2 separate regions of the Homo sapiens genome follow, and region 1 is linked to region 2. Evidence: promoter capture Hi-C in 16 types of primary human blood cells and fetal thymus (Javierre and others, 2016). All regions are on one chromosome and are shown on one strand. The core of a region is centred on a gene start or on the middle of the fragment in contact, and the rest is flanking DNA. Distances in the headings are between cores, read along the strand shown.

Region 1 (6,805 bases), core at 4,284-6,783, 1.3 Mb before region 2:
GAAAAGTGAAATTGACATGCTGAAGAATGCATCAGAGTCTCTCAACAGCAGACTTGATCAAGCAGAACAAAGAATTAGTGAGCCTGAAGTCAGGCTATTTGAAGATACGCAGTCAGAGGAGACAACAGAAAAAAAGAATTTAAAAAAAGCATGACTACAAATATAGAAATTAGCCTTAAAAGAGCACATCCAAGAGATACTGCCCTTAAAGAGGAAGTAGAGAGAAAGATGGAAATAGAAAGTTTATTCAAACAGATAATAACAGAGAACTTCCCAAACCTAGAGAAATACATCAATATTCAAATACAAGAAGCTTATAGAACACCAAGAAATTTTAATACAAAGAAGACTACCTCAAGTCATTCAATAATTAAACTCTCAAAGGTCAAGGATAAAGAAAGGATCCTAAAAGCAGCAAGGGAAAAGCAACAAATGACATACAATGGAACTCCAATACATCTGGAAGCAGACTTTTCAGTGGAAACCTTGCAGGCCAGAAGGGAGTGGCATGACATATTTAAAGTGCTGAAGGAAAAAACTTTTATCCTAGAATAGTAATATCCGGTGAAAATGTCCTTCAAACATAAAGGAGAAATAAAGATTTTCCCAGACAAACAAAAGCTAAAAGATTTCATCAACACCAAGCCTGTCCTACAAGAAATGCTAAAGGGAGCTCTTCAAGCAAAAGAAAAGAACATTAATGAGCAATAAGAAATCATCTGAAGGTATGAAACTCACTGGTAATAATAAGTACATAGAAAAACACAGAATATTATAACACTGTAATTGTGGTGTGTAAACTCATATTTTAAGTAGAAAGGCAAAAACATAAACTGATCAAAAATAATAACTACAACAATTTTTCAAGATGTAGTACAATAAGATATAAATTGAAACAACAAAAAGTTAAAAAGCAGGGAGACAGAGTTGTGTAGAGTTTTTATTAGTTTTGTTTTTGTTTGTTTGTTTATGCTATCAGTGTTAAGTTGTCATTGGTTTAAAATAACGGGTTATAAGATGTTCTTTGCAACCCTCATGGTAACCCCAAACCAAAAAACATACAACAAATACACAAAAAATAAAAAGCAAGAAATTAAAACATACCACCAGAGAAAATTACCTTCACTAAAAGGAAGACAGGGAGGAAAGAAAGAAGAGAAGACCACAAAACAATCAGAAAAAAATTAATAAAATGACAGGAGTAAGTCCTTACTTATCAATAATAACACTGAATGTAAATAGTGTAAATTCTCCAATCAAAAGTTATAGAGCAGGTGAATGAATAGAAAAACAAGACCCAATGATCTATTGCCCACAAGAAACACACTTCACCTATAAAGACACACATAGACTGAAAATAAAGGGATGGAAACAGATATTCCATGCAAATGGAAAACAAACAAGAGCAAGAGTACCTATACTTATATCAGACAAAATAGATTTCAGGTCAAACACAATAAGAAAAGACAAAGAAGGTCATTATATAATGATAAAGGGGTCAATTTAGCAATTTTAAATATATGTGCACCCAACACTAGAGCACCCAGATATAGAAAGCAAATAATAGCCAAAACTATCCTGGGCAAAAAGAATAAAACCGGAGGAATCATATTACCTGACTTCAAATTATACTACAGAGCTATAGTAACCAAAACAGCATGGTACCGGCAGAAAAACAGACACATAGAACAATGGAACACAACAGAGAATGCAGAAACAAATCCACACATCTACAGTAAACTCACTTTAGACAAAGGTGCCAAAAACATACATTGGAGAAAGGACAATCTCTTCAATAAATGGTGCTGTGAAAATTGGATATCCATATGCAGAAGAATGAAACTAGACCCCTATCTCTCGTTGTATGTCAAAATCAAATCAAAATGGATTAAAGACTTAAATCTAAGACCTCAAACCATGAAGCTACTACAAGAAAACATTGGGGAAAATCTCCAGGACATTGGACTGGGCAAAGATTTCTTGTATAATACCCCACAAGCACAGGCAACCAAAGCAAAAAATGGGCAAATGGGATCACATCAAGTTAAAAAACTTTTGCACAGCAAAGGAAACTATTAACAAAGTGAAGAGACAACCCACAGAATGGGAGAAAATATTTGCAAACTATTTATCTGACAAAGAATTAATAATCAGAATATATAAGGAGTTCAAACAACTCTATAGAAAAAAATTCTAATAATCTGATTATTTAAATGGGCAAAAGATTTGAGCAGACATTTCTCAAAAAAAAAAATGTAGAGATGGAAAACAGGTTTATGAAAAGGTGCTCAACTACAGTGAGATATTTTCTCACCCCAGTTAAAATGGCTTTTATCCAAAAGTCAGGCAATAACAAATGCTAGAGAAAATGTGGAGAAAAGGGAACCCACATACACTGTTAGTGGGAAGGTAAATTAGTACAACCACTATGGAGAACAGTTTGGAGGTTCCTCAAAAAACTAAAAATTGAGTTACCATGTGGTTCAGCAATTGCACTATATACCCTAACAGGGTATATACTCAAAAGAAAGGAAATCAGTATATCAGAGCGGTATCTGTACTCTCAGGTTTACTGTAGCACTATTCACAATAGCCAAGATTTGGAAGCAACCTAAGTGTCCATCAACAGACAAATGGATAAAGAAAATGTGGTACATGCACACAGTGGAATACTATTCAGCCATTAAAAATAATGAGATCCTGTCATTTGCATCAACACAGATGGAACTGGAGATCATTATGTTAAGTGAAATAAGCCAGGCATAGAAAGACAAAATTCACTTGTTCTCACTTATTTGTGGGAATCTAAAAATAAAATCAGTTGAATTCATGGAGATAGAGAGTAGAAGGATGGTTACCAGATAGAAAGGGTAGAAGTATGGAAAGGAAGGATGGAAAGTAGAAGGACGGAAAGTAGAAGGACGGAAAGGGTAGTGAGGGTGTCGGGGGAGGGGAAGTGGGGATGGTTAATGGGTACAAAAAATAGTTACAAAGAATGAATAAGATCTAGTATTTGGTAGCACAACAGGGTGACTACAGTCAATAATAATGTAATTGAACATTTTTAAATAACTGAAAAAGTATAATTAGATTGTAACACAAAGAATACATGCTTGAAGGGATGGATACCCCATTCACCCTTATATGATTATTACACATTATATGCCTGTATCAAAATATCCCATATACCCCATAAATATATATACCTACTATGTGCCCACAAAAATTAAAAATTAAAAAAAACAATGAATTGGGTAAATGTAAATGAAATAAAAGTCTATAAACTTCAAAAATAATTATGTTTTATGAAATATGTCTACTAAAAATTGTTCCAAAAATCTTTTTTTGTAACTTGAAATCTTTTTTTCTAATTTTTTTTTTTTTATTTTGAGATGGAGTCTTGCTCTGTCTCCCAGGCTGGAGTGCAGTGGCGTGACCTCAGCTCACTGCAACCTCCACCGCCTCTGGGGTTCAAGCAATTCTCCCGTCTCAGCCTCCTAAGTAGATGGGACTACAGGTGCATGCCACCATGCCTGGCTACTTTTTGTATTTTTAGTAGAGACGGGGTTTCACCATAATGGGCTGGTCTCAAACTCCTGACCTCAGGTGATCCACCTGCCTCCGCTTCCCAAAGTGCTGAGATTACAGGCATGAGCCACCACACCCGGCCGGTAACTTGAAATCTTAAAGTTATGCTATGTTCAATTAAGTAATAAATATTCAATAAATATTGAAGCCATTTCTGAGTAAGTTAAAACATTAAAACATTAACTGCTGAACATAAGATTAAAGTATATATACTTTGGCGTCTTGTTTTTATACAGTATAGAGAAGCTAAATATATTTGGGTCTGCTAATAAACATGAAAGATTATATATGACATGATGTTTATTTACAAAATGCTGATATGAAACTGTTTATAATGCTTACTAGTTTTCACTAGAAATTAAGGTTACTAAGAATTTAAAATTCTAATTAATATATGTAATTAAAACTTCTAGAAATAATAAGGGCAACAACTGTATATGTGAAGGAAGTAAGGCATGTTTTGTCAAGGAAGTTTAAGTATAAGGGTGTATTTTTGTTAAGAGAAAAAAAAGAATAATTTTTGTCCTAAATTAGAGTGATTAATTGTTCTACAATGGGAGAGAGGAAGAGTATAGGACAAACTAAATTGATATAAGAAAGTATAGACAGTTTAAAATTTGAAAAAGGAACTTCATGTGTTGTCAAGCTCGCTAAAACTGAATGAAATTTATTAGAAGGGTTTTTAAAAATTAGCTTTAATATCAAAAGTACATTGATACAAAGCTAGACACTGGCTTTTTTTCTGTTGAAAGAACAAAGTTTTCTTGGTGAAAGGTTTTTCTTATCTTTTAAGTGATCTACCTTACAAAGATTTGTGTTTTATCAGGATAATTTCTTGTGCTTCGTGTTGTCTTTTACTAGGTCTTTGTTTATATACATATATATAAAAATGAGTATTCTCAACATTAAAAGAGCTAAGTTTTTTTACAGCTATATAACCTTTCTGTATTTGCCTCTCATTGTTTCATAATGACTAATGATCCTATTTAATCAAGTGTTTTAGACTTTTTGATATTTTTTACAAACTTCCCAAAATAAGCTTCTAAATTAAGTCTTTTTGACCTAGAACTAACTTTGGGACATTCCAGAGGACCCCTGTAATGTCTGAAAAGATCTGTGCATAATTTTTGATAGTAGATTGTAGCCATATTTGTTGTTTTTGAGTTTTATTGTCTATTTGTAGACTGGACTGAATTCTGAATTCATCTTTATTCCTCCAATCCAATTTTTTCCCATTTTTCAGACTTGAAATCACTCAGAACAAGATGTGCTCTGTTCCTGAAACCCTGCCAGGCAGTTATAGACAACTTGATGTGACTTCTGAGGACAACCCTTATGCCTGATATGTGGACCACTCAGGAAGATCATTGAAACCCTCAGTACCATAACCAGAGACATTCAAACTGCAAACCAGAAAAATATGTTTCAAGCTCAAATCTAGCAATCTTGTTAACTAAATTTCCTCTGGACTCAGACTGAATTTATAGTTTGCTCTAGTCATTGACCTTTGGTTTTCTTTTGTTTCTCTAGAAATGTTAGTTGAGTTGGTTTGTGAGGACCTTGGCTAAGGAACATACTGCAGTCTTTCAGTATTATCCTCCTGGTAGTCATCATAATCTCCCTGGTGAACTACATTCACTTGAGGGTCTTAAATGTGTGTTCACAGTCATCAACGGTATGCCAGATGATCTCACTGTAATTAGAGCAACAAAAATGAGATGAACAACAAAAGGAATCTTTCCTCAATGAGCTTGATGTTGTGACTTATGAGTTTCACACTGAGACAAGGACAACTTAGCCATGATGGTCACAGAGAGTGGAGCTTATGCCCAAGTTTTAGTCAATATCTCTTAAATGAGAGGCTGATCAAAAAGGATGAATTATGTTTTAAAATTCTAATTGGAAGGCCATTAGACTGAGGTGGCTCTGGCACTTTAAATTCCTGTGTGAACAAACCAAAGCCTAATGTAAATAGTAAATTTAAACTAGAAATTGTACCAATCAAAAAAATCACCAATTAATCTCTAACTAGGGACTTTCCACTCTAACCAATAAAAATTGTTTTCTTTGTCCTGCTTCTGCAAACACTATAAAAGTTTCCTTTCTTGCCCCTCCCAGCAGAATGTTTGCAGTCTGATACTGCCCTGATTCATGAATCGCTGAATATTCAAATAAACTCTTTAAAATTTAAATGTGCTTAAGTTTTTCTTTTATCACACCTGACACCAAAAGCATGATTCAAAAAGAAAAAATTAACAAATTGGACTTCAAAATCAAAACTTTCACTCTGCAGAAGACTCTGTTAAAAGAATAAAAGACAAGTTAGCCCTGGGGAGAAAATATTTGCAAGCCACATATCCAACAGAGGACTCGGATCTAGAATATATAAACAAGCGTCAAAACTCACCAATAAAAAGCAAACATGACCAGACATTTTACTGAGGAAGCTATACAAATGCTAATAAGCACGTGCTTCATCATCAGAAAATTGCCTTTACCTGCTCTTCCCACCAATCTTTAGCAAAACTTGTCAATTGTCCAGAGGCAATCCCCACTCCCTCTTACCTCCCTTTTCCTCACCCCCAGCCCCATCTTCCTATGCACTTTCTCATATTTTCAAACCGTGCCCCGCTCCCCACCTCCACCCTCTCACAGAATGTGAGGCAGCCTGACTTCCCTGATTTGGTTCTCAGAGGTTCTCTCTACTCCCAAATTAGCACTTCCATCTACTCCATGCTGCGGACCTTATCTTGGTATCCTGAGGAAGGCAATCCTGGGGCAGTTAAATCCTACCAAATCCGGCCAAGCCACCCCGAGAAGTGAAGCAAGTTGGTAAAGGAAGAGAAGCTTTCAGGTCTGTGGGAGAGGGATAGACACAGCTGTGTGCTGTCAGAGGGCTCTTTCTGGTGCTCCCCTCATCATGCCACAGAGGCCACCGGGTTCTTTCTGGTCTCTTGTTCTCAGACCAGCAAGAGAAGATGGACTAACCTGAGGTTTTCTCTTCCCTAAGCAGCAAAAAGCTTTCAAATCAGTGCTAAATGTGCCAGTTAATGGCAAGCAAGCTAACCTCTAGTTATTTCACAGGCAAATATGGTAAAAGTGGGGGAAGGAGGGCTGATTAAGGGGCAGGACAAATGACCTAGCACAGAGGGGTCAAAAATTGGGGTGCACGTGTAATCCATAGGGACAGATAAACCTGGAATTAAAACAGTGGAGG
Region 2 (6,885 bases), core at 3,847-6,346:
CACAGGAGCAGGTGGGGAACTGGAAGAGCAACAACAAAGGATAAGGAGGAAGAGGTTTGGGAGACAAAACCTAGGAAAAGAGGACCTGGTATGCTAAGGGCTGAGTCCTAACAGCTTCCTAACAGGACCCCCAAGCCATCTTCTACTGCTACCCACCAAGCTCATGGTGTGATAGGAGAAATGGAGGGAGTCAGGAAAATTGTGTTTATAATACAATAGACTTCTTGAGAGATATAATTTGATTTTTTTAAAAGGAACAAATTTATACTGAGTGCCTACCATGTCCAGGTGCTGTGGAAGGTGCTGGAGACTCTAAAGTGGAAAGAAAGAAAAAAGAGACAATTTTTTTGCCTTCATGATGCTTACAAGAAAATGGGGAGAGAGGGAGGAGGGGTGTTCTGTGCACAAAGATCAGTTTGTATCTGTTTGATTCATGACCGGAGTGAAGGGACCAGTTTCTAGTTGGAGTGAGCTGAGTTCCCATCCACCCTTTCAAAGCCCCCACCATCTCTCTGCTGCTTTGTTCCCTGGTTGCAATTTTCTTGGTGCCCTCAGCCTAGCACAGATCTTTTGGAGGTTGACCTGGGTCCCTGAAGATGAGCGGAGTTATGAGGCTGCCCGTGGGGAAAGAATGGGAGAAGAAGCATGGGTGAATCTTGTTCCTGAGGTTATAGAGGGTGTTTCAAGAGGTGCCATGGAAATAAGGGTGCATAGTGTTCACTGCTGCGAAAAAGGCAAAATACTTTTCCACTCTGTCGGAGTAAAATCGCAAAAATGCTCTTCTAGGGTGGGACAGGTGGGTCTTTATTCTGATGCTAATGGTGACATCTGGTCAGTCAAGGCTCTTGGAAGATTCAGCTCTGCATAAGCTTGGGGATGGTGAAGCTAATGTCCCAAGAAGCCCACAAGAAAAAGTTAGACTTGTATGTCTATGGATATGGTCAGGGGTTTCTGAGGCAAATCAATGTAGATAAGGAAGTCTGTGAGTTGGCATATGCTTGAGGAAAACATGGTATCAGGAGGCAGGTATTATACTGGTTTAGGTCAGGGCTTTGGTTTCAGATAGACCTTGGTTTGATTCCAGCTCTGCATTTTACCACCTATGTGAGTTTGGGCAAGTTACTGGAACTCTCTAAAGCTTGAGTTTCCTTATCTGTCCTAATAGTGTAGATCATAACAGTACTTTCTTGTAGGGTTGTTGTAAGGATGAAATAACTCACATTGCAAGTGCTCAATAAATGTTCTTATTAGCGAAATGATGGTTATCTAGTGATTCATCTAGAGCACAGCCCTCAAACTTGAATGGGTCCAGAGACCTGCTACTCAAAGTGTGGGCACCAGCCCAGTAGGACTGACATCAACTGGAATCTGATGGGAAATGCAGAATCTCAGGCTCTAGGCCAGAACTACTCAATCAGAACTTGCCTTTTAACAAGATCCTAGATGATTCACACGCACATTCCAGTCTGAGAAGCTCTGATCCGGAAGAGATCAGGAGATGTTCAAGTGCTGAAACACAAGTAAGGCATGGCAGAAGCTAAAATGTGAAGTATTGAGAGTAAACCAGGAGAGCAGATGGTTATTCCTTCCATCCCTTAAGGATCTTATCTTTCAAACTTCTGCTTTACCACTTCAACACACAAAACAGAGATAGATTTCCTTCTAGGAGTGTGTGTGTGTGTGTGTGTGTGTGTGTGTGTTGAGAACATCAATGGTTCAATAATTGCTTCATAGTCTTTTCTTCCAGGAAAGAGCATTTGAATTTGGCTACAGAGAATAGATAGGTGGGATTTTATTAGGCAGAGCAAGGTGGAAAGGACATATTTGGGAGACAGAAGACATAAGCAAAGGCAAGAGGCAGGAGAATTCAGGGCACTTTCTTGGACTCCTAAGTAGTTAAGTTTGACTGGAGTAGGGAGTGGGTAGTAGAGTGATGAGAATAGTTGTAAGTAAGACTGGAAATACATGTGAAACCTGGGTCATGAAGGGCCTTGACTCCTCTTCAAGATTTTGGATTTTATTCTGAACTACTGAAGGCATTTATTGTACATGTCTGTGCATTCTTCTTGCACAAACAGTCCAGCTCCCAAGGAAGAGGGGCCCAGCCCATTGGAGGTGGCCCCACGTCCTTCAGTGCCTGGAGTTCTTGTCCTTCAGAGTGGGCTGGGGGTGGAGCTGGACATCCTGAAAACTTTTAGTGAGATTGCAATCAGATGAGCTCATTTACAAATGGCCCTACGCTGTTGACTTGGTCATTTTATGGACAGTGCTAATGGCCCAGTCAGTTAGGCCTACGTTTGGTTCACCTGTGTATACATCACTTGGATATTATGTCCCATATCATTGTTGGCCCTTCTGAGTTAAGTTCGTTGGCACAGATTTACTTTGTCCACCCAGACTGAAACTGCACCTCTGAAGACTCCATCACGGAAGGTGACTCTGTGAATAACTGCTTAGTCAACCTAATAGATGATCTAGATGAGAGATTAGCAAATTTAACACTACTCCAAGGTGAGGTATCAAGCAGCTCTTCCCACATACAGGGAGATGGGGGGAGAACAGACTAAGGAAGATCTTGGACTCTCTCTCTCATTAGAGAAATGGGGGTGGGAATTAGGGACTAGCCTGTGTACTACTGACCTATGGCATAGTCTCTCAAAACCCATTTCAGAGCCAGGCACAGTGGTACATGCCTGTAGTCCTGGCTACACAGGAGGCTGAGGCAGGAGGATCCCTTGAGCTCAGGAGTTTAAGGCTGTAGTGTGCTATGATCATGCCTGTGAATAACCACTGCACTGCAGCCTGGACAACATAGCAAGACTCTGTCTCTAAAAACAAAACAAAACAAACAAACAATCATTTCTGATAGTTTACTTTGCCTGTCAAAATGAAGAGCAGGTAGGATAGAATCAAAAGCTTTAAAAAAATCAAAACAGCTTACAGCTGCTATTTTCTCTCTGCCTCTGCGATCATTCAGAGAAAATAAATTCACTGGTCTAGTCCAACTTATTCTTCCCTAAGCCCTGCTGTTTTTTTTTTCTAGTATTTCATATTGCCTTGGTGGTTGCTAAGTGATTGTTGGATTTAGCCCCAGTATATTCTCAGATAACTATGCCAATAATCTATAATTACCAGAATTCATCTTTTCTCCCTTTTGGAAAGATGGACTGGCTATTTTTTTCTTGTAAACCTTGGGTGTTTAATTCTGCCCTACAGGATGATGTCAGAGATAATAGCTGGTGAGTCTTTAATAATAACTGCGAATTCCTACAATATTGTAAGGTAAACGTCAAAAGGTTTCATGCATATATATGTATCTTTTAATCTTTCATTTGAACAGTTTCACTTTTTATGATCTTGCTGTTGGTTCTGGAATTATAGGACAAATTTTTCTTTTCTTTTCTTTTCTTTTTGAGACAGGGCCTTGCTCTGTCACTCATGCTGGAGTACAGTGGCTTGATCATAGCTTCCTGCAGCCTCTAATTCCTGGGTTCAAGTGATCCTCCTGCCTCAGCTGCCAAAGTAGCTGGGACTACAGGTGCACATCACCACGCCTGGTTAACTTTTTATTTTTTTTTTTAGAGACACGGTCATGCTATGTTGCCCAGGCTGGTCTCAAACTCCTGGGGTCAAGTGATCCTCCTGCCTCAGACTCCAAAGTGTTGGGATTATAGGCATGAGACAATACACCTGGCCCAGGGGATTTTTTTCTCCATCACTTAACATGAAATTCACCAAGCAAAACCTCTTACATAACCATGGGACCAATAATCTCAGATTCTCCATTCCCCTCCCCACCTTGATATTAGGATTATGCAGCTTAATGAGTCAAGCTGTCCCACCCTACCCACCTATTACTCCCACTCCCAGGATACCAGGAGTTTTGTATGGGATACATAAATGATCCTTTTTTCCATTCCGTTAAGCTGTATGCAAATTGTGTGTGTGCTTATGTACATTTTTCTGGGGATAACTTTGGTAGTTTTCATCAGATTCTTAAAGGTGTCTGTTTGCTAAAGCCAGATTAAGAGCTACTATAAAGAACACATAGCCTCCGTTATTCCAGCCCAATCTTTGGAAATAGAGATTATCAGAATGGGTACATCCTAATATTTGCCGCAAATGACTCTGAAGATGCGGATGCAATTACATAAATCCCAGGCTCCTTCAACATATAAACCCAGAAGTGTGATTTCAGGGCCCCAGACATGCCCTGTCTCTACTTCATTCTCTTGTCCCAAATTGCAGCACCCAGAATATTTCTTCCTAAGCATTACTCAGGCTATCCTATTTTCTTATTCAGAAACTATATTCCTGTTCTTTAGCTATTTCCTGCACAAATCAATTTCTTTTTTTTTTTTTTTTTTTTGGTAGTCATTTTAATTTACTTCTTGGTTTCAATTTGGATTGACTTTCTGCATTTTGCTACTGGTAGAATTGCAATGCATTGGGCCAGTGGTAGACCACTACCTGTCAGGAGAAATTTCTTTTGTTCTTTGGTTTTTACTCGCACATCACAGTGATGGGCGTCATTCAGTGGTTCTAAACCCTCAGTACACTTAGAAATCACCTAAGAAGCTTTGAAAACCATGAAAGCCTGGTCCCTATCTCCAAGGATTTTAATTCAATCGATCTGAATGAGGCCTGGGTGTTGACTTAAAAAAAATGCAACATGCATTGAGCCACTGGTCTAATCTAGCAGGAATTGGCAACGAGTGTGAGGGTCTTTCAAAAGATGCTGTTTTACCTGGCTAAGGTTGTGGCATGCCCACAGAGTAACCACCTCCTTTTCTTTCCCCAGATGGTGCTCCTGGCCAGGTGCGAGGGGCACTGCAGCCAGGCGTCACGCTCCGAGCCTTTGGTGTCGTTCAGCACTGTCCTCAAGCAACCCTTCCGTTCCTCCTGTCACTGCTGCCGGCCCCAGACTTCCAAGCTGAAGGCACTGCGGCTGCGATGCTCAGGGGGCATGCGACTCACTGCCACCTACCGGTACATCCTCTCCTGTCACTGCGAGGAATGCAATTCCTGAGGCCCGCTGCTGTGTGTGGCTTCTGGATGGGACAACTGTAGAGGCAGTTCGACCAGCCAGGGAAAGACTGGCAAGAAAAGAGTTAAGGCAAAAAAGGATGCAACAATTCTCCCGGGACTCTGCATATTCTAGTAATAAAGACTCTACATGCTTGTTGACAGAGAGAGATACTCTGGGAACTTCTTTGCAGTTCCCATCTCCTTTCTCTGGTACAATTTCTTTTGGTTCATTTTCAGATTCAGGCATTTTCCCCCTTGGCTCTCAATGCTGTTTGGGTTTCCAACAATTCAGCATTAGTGGGAAAAAGTGGGCCCTCATACACAAGCGTGTCAGGCTGTCAGTGTTTGGTGCACGCTGGGGAAGAATTTACTTTGGAAAGTAGAAAAGCCCAGCTTTTCCTGGGACATCTTCTGTTATTGTTGATGTTTTTTTTTACCTTGTCATTTTGGTCTAAGGTTGCCATTGCTGCTAAAGGTTACCGATTTCAAAGTCCAGATACCAAGCATGTGGATATGTTTAGCTACGTTTACTCACAGCCAGCGAACTGACATTAAAATAACTAACAAACAGATTCTTTTATGTGATGCTGGAACTCTTGACAGCTATAATTATTATTCAGAAATGACTTTTTGAAAGTAAAAGCAGCATAAAGAATTTGTCACAGGAAGGCTGTCTCAGATAAATTATGGTAAAATTTTGTAAGGGAGCAGACTTTTAAAGACTTGCACAAATACGGATCCTGCACTGACTCTGGAAAAGGCATATATGTACTAGTGGCATGGAGAATGCACCATACTCATGCATGCAAATTAGACAACCAAGTATGAATCTATTTGTGGGTGTGCTATAGCTTTAGCCGTGTCACGGGCATCATTCTCTAATATCCACTTGTCCATGTGAAACATGTTGCCAAAATGGTGGCCTGGCTTGTCTTCTGAACGTTTGGTTCAAATGTGTTTTGGTCCTGGAGGCTCAAATTTTGAGTTATTCCCACGTTTTGAAATAAAAAGAGTATATTCAAAATTTTGACTGTTTAAGTATTTTTTTCCTACTTGATATCCTACTATCATGTGGACTAGAACATACATGTAGCTAGTGCTTGAGCATCTCCTATGATATAGTAAAAGAGTCAAAAAAAAAAAAAAGGAGACAGAAATGGGGTTCCAGAATGCATTGTGGGAACATTTTTTTGAAATCAATGTAACAAGGTGTTGAGGGCTTATTAAATTTGACTCTGAGTTTTAGATTTTAGCCCATTGAATAAACACAAAATCTAATGCATTTTGGCTTCCTTGGAAGCTATGGAATGAAACAGAGGAGTCCCCTCCTTTTTAATTTCTTCACTTTTCTCAGAAGAAAATAAATATCCATAAGTGAAGTTGGAAGAACCAGCAGAAGGACAAATAGTTAACAACATTTCTGTGCCATTGACTGTGCAGTGCTCAGGATCGAATGATATTACTGGGCATTACAAGAATACTCATGATGTTAGCACAGTGCTATGTCCCTCTTAGGTATCTCAATACAAATCCAGACTTGGCAATTCAGTTTCCAGGGCAACCTTGTCCTGGTTAACTAGAGATGATATTAACTCCCCCACTGTTAGTACAGCCAACCTGTGAATTACTTTTCCAGTAGAGATAATGGTTTTGAACACTCTTTGGCACAGCTTTCACACATTCTTAAGAAAGCCAGCAGGGTTATACTTGTATTCATGGCTTTGAAACAGAATGAAACTAATGCTATTAAATCTTGACCTTGATCTTAATCTCTGTGGTGACACAGCCAGCCAGTCTCCTAAATTGGAGGTTCTCCTCATTCTGAAGGCAAATGCGAAATGGCAGTTTGGACCATTA

The links. The method cuts DNA at HindIII sites, captures the fragments that hold promoters and counts their contacts. A CHiCAGO score of 5 or more calls a contact.
Region 1: a contact is called between a fragment that was not itself captured here and the fragment with the promoter of NDP-AS1 in region 2, in 1 of 17 cell types (erythroblasts). The highest score is 7.0, in erythroblasts.

The regions. Positions count from the first base shown.
Region 1 is chrX:45,201,254-45,208,058 of GRCh38, reverse strand. No RefSeq gene overlaps it. Among named protein-coding and RNA genes, the nearest start is that of DIPK2B, 3.8 kb to the right of the region's middle. The HindIII fragment of the contact is 1,808 bases long and covers 4,630-6,437 here.
Region 2 is chrX:43,947,943-43,954,827 of GRCh38, reverse strand. NDP-AS1 (NDP antisense RNA 1) reads right to left here and starts at 5,096. Exons shown (of 6, transcript NR_046631.1): 1 at 4,748-5,096; 2 at 1,426-1,509; 3 at 280-312. NDP (norrin cystine knot growth factor NDP) reads left to right here. Exons shown (of 3, transcript NM_000266.4): 3 at 4,802-6,052. The coding sequence ends at 5,029. RefSeq lists enhancers at 4,385-4,901, 4,902-5,419. The HindIII fragment of the contact is 3,781 bases long and covers 4,581-6,885 here.